Regions from separate parts of the Homo sapiens genome. Here region 1 is linked to region 2. Evidence: promoter capture Hi-C in 16 types of primary human blood cells and fetal thymus (Javierre and others, 2016). All regions are on one chromosome and are shown on one strand. The core of a region is centred on a gene start or on the middle of the fragment in contact, and the rest is flanking DNA. Distances in the headings are between cores, read along the strand shown. Region 1 overlaps GTPBP10 (GTP binding protein 10). Region 2 holds the start of KRIT1 (KRIT1 ankyrin repeat containing).

What was found. The method cuts DNA at HindIII sites, captures the fragments that hold promoters and counts their contacts. A CHiCAGO score of 5 or more calls a contact.
Region 1: a contact is called between a fragment that was not itself captured here and the fragment with the promoter of KRIT1 in region 2, in 1 of 17 cell types (fetal thymus). The highest score is 6.6, in fetal thymus.

What each region holds. Positions count from the first base shown.
Region 1 is chr7:90,348,079-90,351,605 of GRCh38, reverse strand. All of the region lies in intron 1 of GTPBP10 (GTP binding protein 10), which reads right to left. The region is part of intron 1 of LOC107986715 (a long non-coding RNA gene); the gene reads left to right. Among named protein-coding and RNA genes, the nearest start is that of GTPBP10, 3.1 kb to the right of the region's middle. The HindIII fragment of the contact is 6,192 bases long and covers 1-3,527 here.
Region 2 is chr7:92,244,067-92,247,767 of GRCh38, reverse strand. KRIT1 (KRIT1 ankyrin repeat containing) reads left to right here and starts at 1,854. Exons shown (of 19, transcript NM_194454.3): 1 at 1,854-1,978; 2 at 2,597-2,866; 3 at 3,619-3,701. ANKIB1 (ankyrin repeat and IBR domain containing 1) reads right to left here and starts at 1,794. Exons shown (of 20, transcript NM_019004.2): 1 at 1,249-1,794. RefSeq lists a silencer at 1,359-1,748 and an enhancer at 1,679-1,973. The HindIII fragment of the contact is 4,029 bases long and covers 387-3,701 here.

The sequences.
Region 1 (3,527 bases), core at 1,014-3,513, 1.9 Mb after region 2:
CAATAAATATATTAGAAAAATTTTTTGAGCTTTGCAACAATTTGAAAAAACTTACAAAGCAAATAGATTGGAAATATTGAAAAAATTAAGAAAAGCTGTGTGTTATGAGTGCAAAAAATATATAGATGCTAATCTATTTTGTCATTTACTTCCATAAAATATACACATATCTATCTTAATTTTTAAAAACTAGAGATGGGGTTTTGCTATGTTGCCCAGGCTGGTCTCAAACTCCTGGCCACAAACAATCCTCTTGCCTTGGCCTCCCAAAGTGCTGGAATTACAGGCATGAGCTACTGCACCTGGCCACACATCTATTATAAAAACTTAAAATTTATCAAAACTTACACACACACTTACAGATCTTACATGGCAGCATTTGCAGTCAAGAGAAATGTAAGCAAATGTAAAAATGCAGTATTAAATCATAACTGCATAAAATTAACTGTAGTACATCGTGGAATACTGTAATAATTTCGTAGTTACCTCCTGTAACTATCCCGGGATCTCAAGTGTCCCAAGTTGCCACTTAAAAGGCCATGTGATGCTAATCGTCTCCCCATGAGCAGTTCATCTTGCCAGTACATTTTATAAGTCAGTAAAAAGTAATCTCTCACAGTTCTCTTGCATTTTTCATCATGTTCAGCGCTACACTGTAAACCTTGAACACCACCATGGAACCCATACAAAGTGCCACTAGTGATGCTGGCAGTGCTCCCAAGAAGTAAAGTCATGACACTACGATAAAAAGATGAATTGCTTGATATCTACCACAGATTAAAATCTGTAGCTGCGATGGCCTGCTATCTCAAGATAAATGAATCCAGAATAAGAATCAGTGTAAAAAAAGACAAAAATTCATGAAGCCACTGCAGCAGCTATGCCAAAAGGTGTGAAAACCTTGCACTTTTTGTGAATTAACTTTTTATCTTGTATTAAAAAGGCAACTTTTATGTAGATGCAGGATTCCTATTTTAAAAACATAGACTAATACAATAAAAGAAAAAGTAAGGTTACCATATGACAACTTAAAAGCAAAAGGAATGTGAAGGATCTAAAGCTAAAGAATTAATTGCCAGCAAAGGATGATTTGATAATTTTAGAAGGAGGTTTGACTGTGGAAGACAGTTCTAGATTCCTCAAGAATCTAGAACTAGAAATACCATTTGACCCAGCCATCCCATTACTGGATATATACCCAAAGGATTAAAAATCATGCCACTATAAAGACACATGCACACGTATGTTTATTGTGGCACTATTCACAACAGCAAAGACTTGGAACCAACCCAAATGTCCATCAATGATAGACTGGATTAAGAAAATGTGGCACATATACACGATGGAATACTATGCAGCCATAAAAAGGATGAGTGACATGGATGCAGCTGGAAACCATCATTCTGACCAAACTATCACAAGGACAGAAAACCAAACACCACATGTTCTCACTCATAGGTGGGAACTGAACAATGAGAACACTTGGGACACGGGGGGAACATCACACACTGGGACCTGTCATGGGGTTGGGGGCTGGGTGAGAGATAACATTAGGAGAAATACCCAATGTAAATGACAAGTTAATGGGTGCAGCAAACCAACATGGCACATGTATACCTATGTAACAAACCTGCACGCTGTGTACATGTACCCTAGAACTTAAAGTATAATTTAAAAAAAAAAAAGAAGAAATAGGTTTGGCTTTGGCTTTAGAAATATCAAGATAACAGGTGAAGCAGGTTCTGCCAACTAAGAGGCAGCAGATGAGTTCCCAGATGCCATTAAGAAAATCACTGAGACGAAAGAATATCTCCCAAATCAGGTTGTTAATGCTGATGAAAGTACCCTATTCTGGAAAACATGCTACAAAAGACATTAGTAAGGAAGAGAAGGGAGCACCAGGATTTAAGCCAGGAAGGGATAGGCTAACCCTACTGTATTGTGCAAATGCAGTTGTGTTTGTAATCAGGACTGTCCTTATCTATAAAGCTGCTAACCCCTCAATCTTGAAAGGGAAAGATAAACATCAGCTGCCAGTCTTTGTTGGATAAGAAGGCCTAGAGAACAAAAACCTTTTCTCTGGATTGGTTCCATGGATGCTTTCTCCCTGAAGTCAGGAAGTACCTTCCCAATACGAGACTGACTTGTAAAGTTCCTCTGCTAATGGACAGTGCCCCACCTCCCCGCTACCCAGAACCCCATGAGTTCAACATCAAAGGCACTGAAGTGGTGTCCTTGCCCCCAAACACAATGTCTGTAAATCAGCCTCTAGATCACGGGGTCGCAAGGACCTTTAAGGCTCATTAAACATGATTTTCTACGAAAAGGATTGTCAACCATGGAAAAGAACACTAATAGAGAAAACTTCAGGAAAATCTGAAGTTTACATAATTGAAGATGCCATTATTATTGAAAAAGCCATGAAAGCCATAAGCCCCAAACAGTAAGTTCGTGCTGGAGAAAACTTTGTCCAGGTGTTGTGTTGTGTTATAATTTCACAGGATTTACAAAAGAGCCAATCAAGGAAATCATGAAAGAGGCTGTGAATATGCCAAAAACGGCGGGAAAGTGGGTAAAGGACTTCAAGATATGGATCTTGAAGAAACTCAAGAGCTAACAGCCACCAAACCAGAGGAATTAACAGAAGACAGCTTGATGAGTGCTTCAGATCCAGTGCCAGATAACAAGGAAGAAAACACAGAATAAACTACCAGAAAAACGAACATTAGATAATCTGGCAGAAGAGCTCCTATTGTTCAGGACTGCTTTTGACTTCTTTTATGACATGGACCCTTCTGTGAAGAGGCACTGAAACCAAAGCAAATGGTGGAAGAGGTATTGGTACCCTATAGAAACATTTTTTTGGGGGAAAGAGAAAAGCAAAAGCATGACAGAAATTATGATGTACTTCCATAAAGTTACACATAGTGTGTCTGCCTCTCTTGCCTCCCCTTCCACCTCCTCCACCCCCACCCCTTCTGCCTCTGCCACCCAAGAGAGCAAGACCAACTCCTCCTCTTCCTCCTCAGTCTATTCAACATGAAGACTATAAGGATGAAGACCTTTACAATTCACTTCCATTTAATGAACAGTAAATATATTTTCCCTTCTTTCTGACTTTCTTAGTAACTGTTTCTTTTCTCTAGCTTAATTTAAGAATACAGTATATACTATATATATATTTTATATGTGTCAACTGACGGCTTATGTTATCAGTGAGGCTTCCAGCCAACAGATTATTAGTAGTTGTTTTGTGGGGGGAGTTGAAAGTTACATGAAGATTTTCAGCTGTGGCGGGGGCATCTCTAACCCCCATGTTCTTGAAGGGTCAACTGTATATCCAAAGCTACTAAAATACCCTTCTGGTATCTTTTATTTTCTTTTTTTTGAAACAGGGTCTGGTTCTGGTGCCTGGGCTCGAGTGCCGTGGCACTATCATAGCACTATCATTGCTGCAGCCTCAAACTCCTGGGCTCAAGCAATTCTCCCACTTCAGCCTCCCAAATGGCTGGGACTACAGGCACCAC
Region 2 (3,701 bases), core at 605-3,104:
ACAGTAAAATTATTCTTAAATTATCGTTTGCTTCCTATGGTGCTCTGAAAAGTAGCAAATGCATAAAGTCATATAAGAGCTATTGTCCAATCACTGACAGCATTAAAATTATTTTTAAATCTAATTTCTGGAAAGTTCTGCAGGAGCAGTTTGAAAAGCAAATCAAATTCTAATGAGAAAAAACGCCTAGTTCAAAAATCTGAAAATATACTTTGAAGACATTCACAGTTTAAGCAGCAGGAGGGTCATAGGCACCAAGGTGTGTAACATCTGTGAGTGGCTGATACAAAAAAAGATTTCTCTGGAATTAATGATTGAAAATAATTATCAAATACAATCTAATATGATCTTTAAACGTCTGTCTCAAAAGCAACAAAGCAAAAGCTTGTAACAAAGCAAAACCTTCCAATACACAGATTTTTACACCTTACACATACCCACATACTTCACAAATTAAGAACTAGATGAAAATTAGAACACTAAAATTTAAAGGTATCTAAAATACACTATTTGAAACAGCAGACTCTTATCTTTACATTTATCTGTCAGATCTACCAGTAAAGCTCTTCTGAAATGGTCATTCCAATACAAGATTGTTCGATATGCCATTCCGTGTGAATAGAGCTTGGGAGACTAATTCTCAAAATCTCCTCAGGAGATGCTTTATTACAGCTCTAGTTTCAATTTCCTGCGACTCAAACAGCTACGTACAGAAAAACAGCTCATACATACGGAGAAGAATAAGAATACAGGGGAGCGCTCCATTCTTTTGTTTTGGTGGCAGAAGCTGCAAAAATAAAGGTTCACTGGAGCCATCTGCACCTATCCCCACCCATCACAGCCCTGCAGAGCACTTTTACCCATCCGCTTCTCAAGACTCTCTCTAGCCCCCGAGGTCGGCAGAACCCGTGGCTTTCCACGTCTCAAAGGATGGGGGTGGGGGGGAGGCTGCGAGGAAGGACACAGATCCTTTGAGGACAGAGGGACAAGGAGATGCATCCAGATGGGGAGGATGGGACGCGTCACGGAGACCCGGAGGCTTGCAAATTCGCTGGGAGAAAAGCCCTGTAGGGCAGAGAATGCTGCCTGTTCAGGGATGGGGACAGACAGAACAACAATGCTCCAAAACAGGCGACAGACACACTCCTAGTAGATCCGGGAGGGTGTGAAGTAGGTAGCTCTGAACTCGGAGCCACAAATGGGTAGAGGCAGCCTCAAACACATCTGTACCGCGAAGCTGAGACTTACGGTTACTTCTCTCGCTGAGGGTAAGGGTCGGTGGACCCAGCAACTCCGCAGTTCCGCCTCCGCCGCCCCTGCCTCTACAGCCGAGCTGGTGACCTCAGGTACCCAGCCCGCCCCACCCACCCGGACGGTTGCCCCTTCCTCGCCGGCCCGGGTGCACCCGCCAGGCGGAGGCTGATGTGGCCGAGGGTGCGCACTGGCGGCCCGCGGGAAGCGCTGCGTGAGCCGAAGGCGCCCGCGGCGAGGCTCAGACTGGGTGGGCGCCCCCCATCCCTCTCCGGCCGCTGCGCCGCCTCACTCGGGGGAGGGGAAGAGGGGGCGGTGGCTCTTGCCTCCGCCTCGCGGTCAAGCCCGGCTCATGTTCCAGCCTTGCGCGCTCGCAGCCCCGGCCGCCCTCTTCCCCTCCCCCGCCTCCGGCTCCGGCTCCGGCTCAGCCGCTGGCACCCCCACCGCCACCACCCTAGTCTCCTAGTCGCCTGCCACCAGCCCCTGAGAGACTGCAGGTCCAGTGAAAAGGAGCAGGAACGGCAGCAGCCCGGCCGCCGACCCGGAAGCTCTTTCACCGCCAACCGCGAGGCTGCAAAGGGTGTGAACCCGGAAGCGATTTCATAGCCACGGTAACGGCGGGGTGGAAAGCTAAGGCCTTTGAAGACCTGGGACCCCGTAGTTTCGGGAGAGGGTGAGGGGTGAATGGTGCTGAGGTGCGAGGAGAGGGAAGGACAGTAAAGAGCAGGTGGGCAGGAGGGTCTCCGACTCCAGAGACCTGAGCTTTTGGGGCGCGGGTGGGAGCGCGGGGGAACCCTCAAGACGGCTTTCTTTTGGCGACTGAGGGTTTTTCTGCCACAGGAAGCTGGGCCGGGCTGCTGTGCCTGGGAGGAGGGAAGGAGGAATGAGAAAGCGGTGACGGTCCCTGCCCCCCCTCGCCAGGTGACTGTCCCACCCATTTAGTTGAATGTAGCGGCCAGAGAGGCACTCGCGGCAGCCCGTACGGGTGGGACCTCTCGGTGTCCTTCGGGAAACAGGAGGAGCAAGTTCGACTCCAGCGAGGGAAAACGGAGGTGGGAGACTGAACCATCTCCACATCTAGTTGCCCCAGGCAAGGAGTTTATTTTTCACATGTAGTTACAGAGAAACCATAGCCACTTTTTGGGTGGAAACTCTTTGAGCAAAGAGGCTTACGTTTTTCCCCAGTAGTGGACGTTGACGGGTGGTGGCGCAGGAAAAAACCTCCCAGGCAGAGTGATTACGTATTTTTGTCATTGCAGGGAAAGGGATTCACAGCTTGTCATTCTAACTCACTTCTCCCCCTGTAACTCACTTCTCGCCTCTACACTTTTCTCCACCTTTTAAGGTTTTTGGCTTTCATCGCTTTTTCTACATGTTTTTAGCCTCACCAGAAGTCTTTCATCTCGGTGGTCCAACTCAGGATCTCAGCCTCATTATTTTCTTACCCTTCTGGAGTGCATATGTGCCTTTACAGTTTCTGTTTGCAAACGCTGTCTAGCATACTAAGAGGATGTTAGCAAACCTGTTCCATGGACACTAAATGGCAGTTGTACATCTCCCCTCATCAGTCATAGTGACAACCAGAAATGCCCTCCATATTTTCCAGTGATCCCAGGTAGGTGCCACCCCCCTAATTAAGGACCACTTCCACTGCTTTATTTATAAGATCTTATTACTTAGGGAGCATATTATCATTTGTGCCTAACATTTTCCAGAATGGAGTGAGCCATATAACAAAATGCCACGTTTCCTGTACTTATTCACTTGAACCCTCATCTCAGACTCAGTCTAAACATATTGCAAACTCTAGTTATACCTTTCTTGTATTTTAGTTCAAGCTACTCATTTTCTATCAGTTTGTCTGTGTTTCTCCCTTAGCAGTTTTACCTTCCTATGTTAGTTACTTTTGTTATTTTCCTGTTAAGCCTTTGTTTCCTTCTTTCATGTCACTGGAAGAATGTAGATTTTAAGTAGTCAAGTACGAATAGTTCTTGAAAATGAATTTTAAGAATATTTTGGGGATATGGTAAAAAAGTATTTGGTTTAAGAAAACAAAATACTGTTACTGTCATAGTTATGTCTTTTTAAAATCACATTTGTTTACCTTTTAAAAGTTCAGGCTTCTGTGCAGTATTAATTAAATATTCTAGAGAAGTGATGAGTATTGACAAAGTACTTTGCTAGTAAATGTTTTCTTAACATGAGTTGACCAAGACAGGAATTGATTTGCTTTAAATTGTCTTTAGAAAAGTAAGAGTTACTTGATTTTTCTTTTAGGTCCTTAATAGATAAAATGGTTTCTGTAATTGTGCCCATATATCATACAGTGTATTCACAATACAATGTCTTTCTTTTTGGGGCTTGCAGTCTTCAATGCGTCTGTCTCATAATTTGTAAACGTTTATTATCTTGAAGTCATTGTTAATCTGTGGTGAAAAGTAATTGCTAAA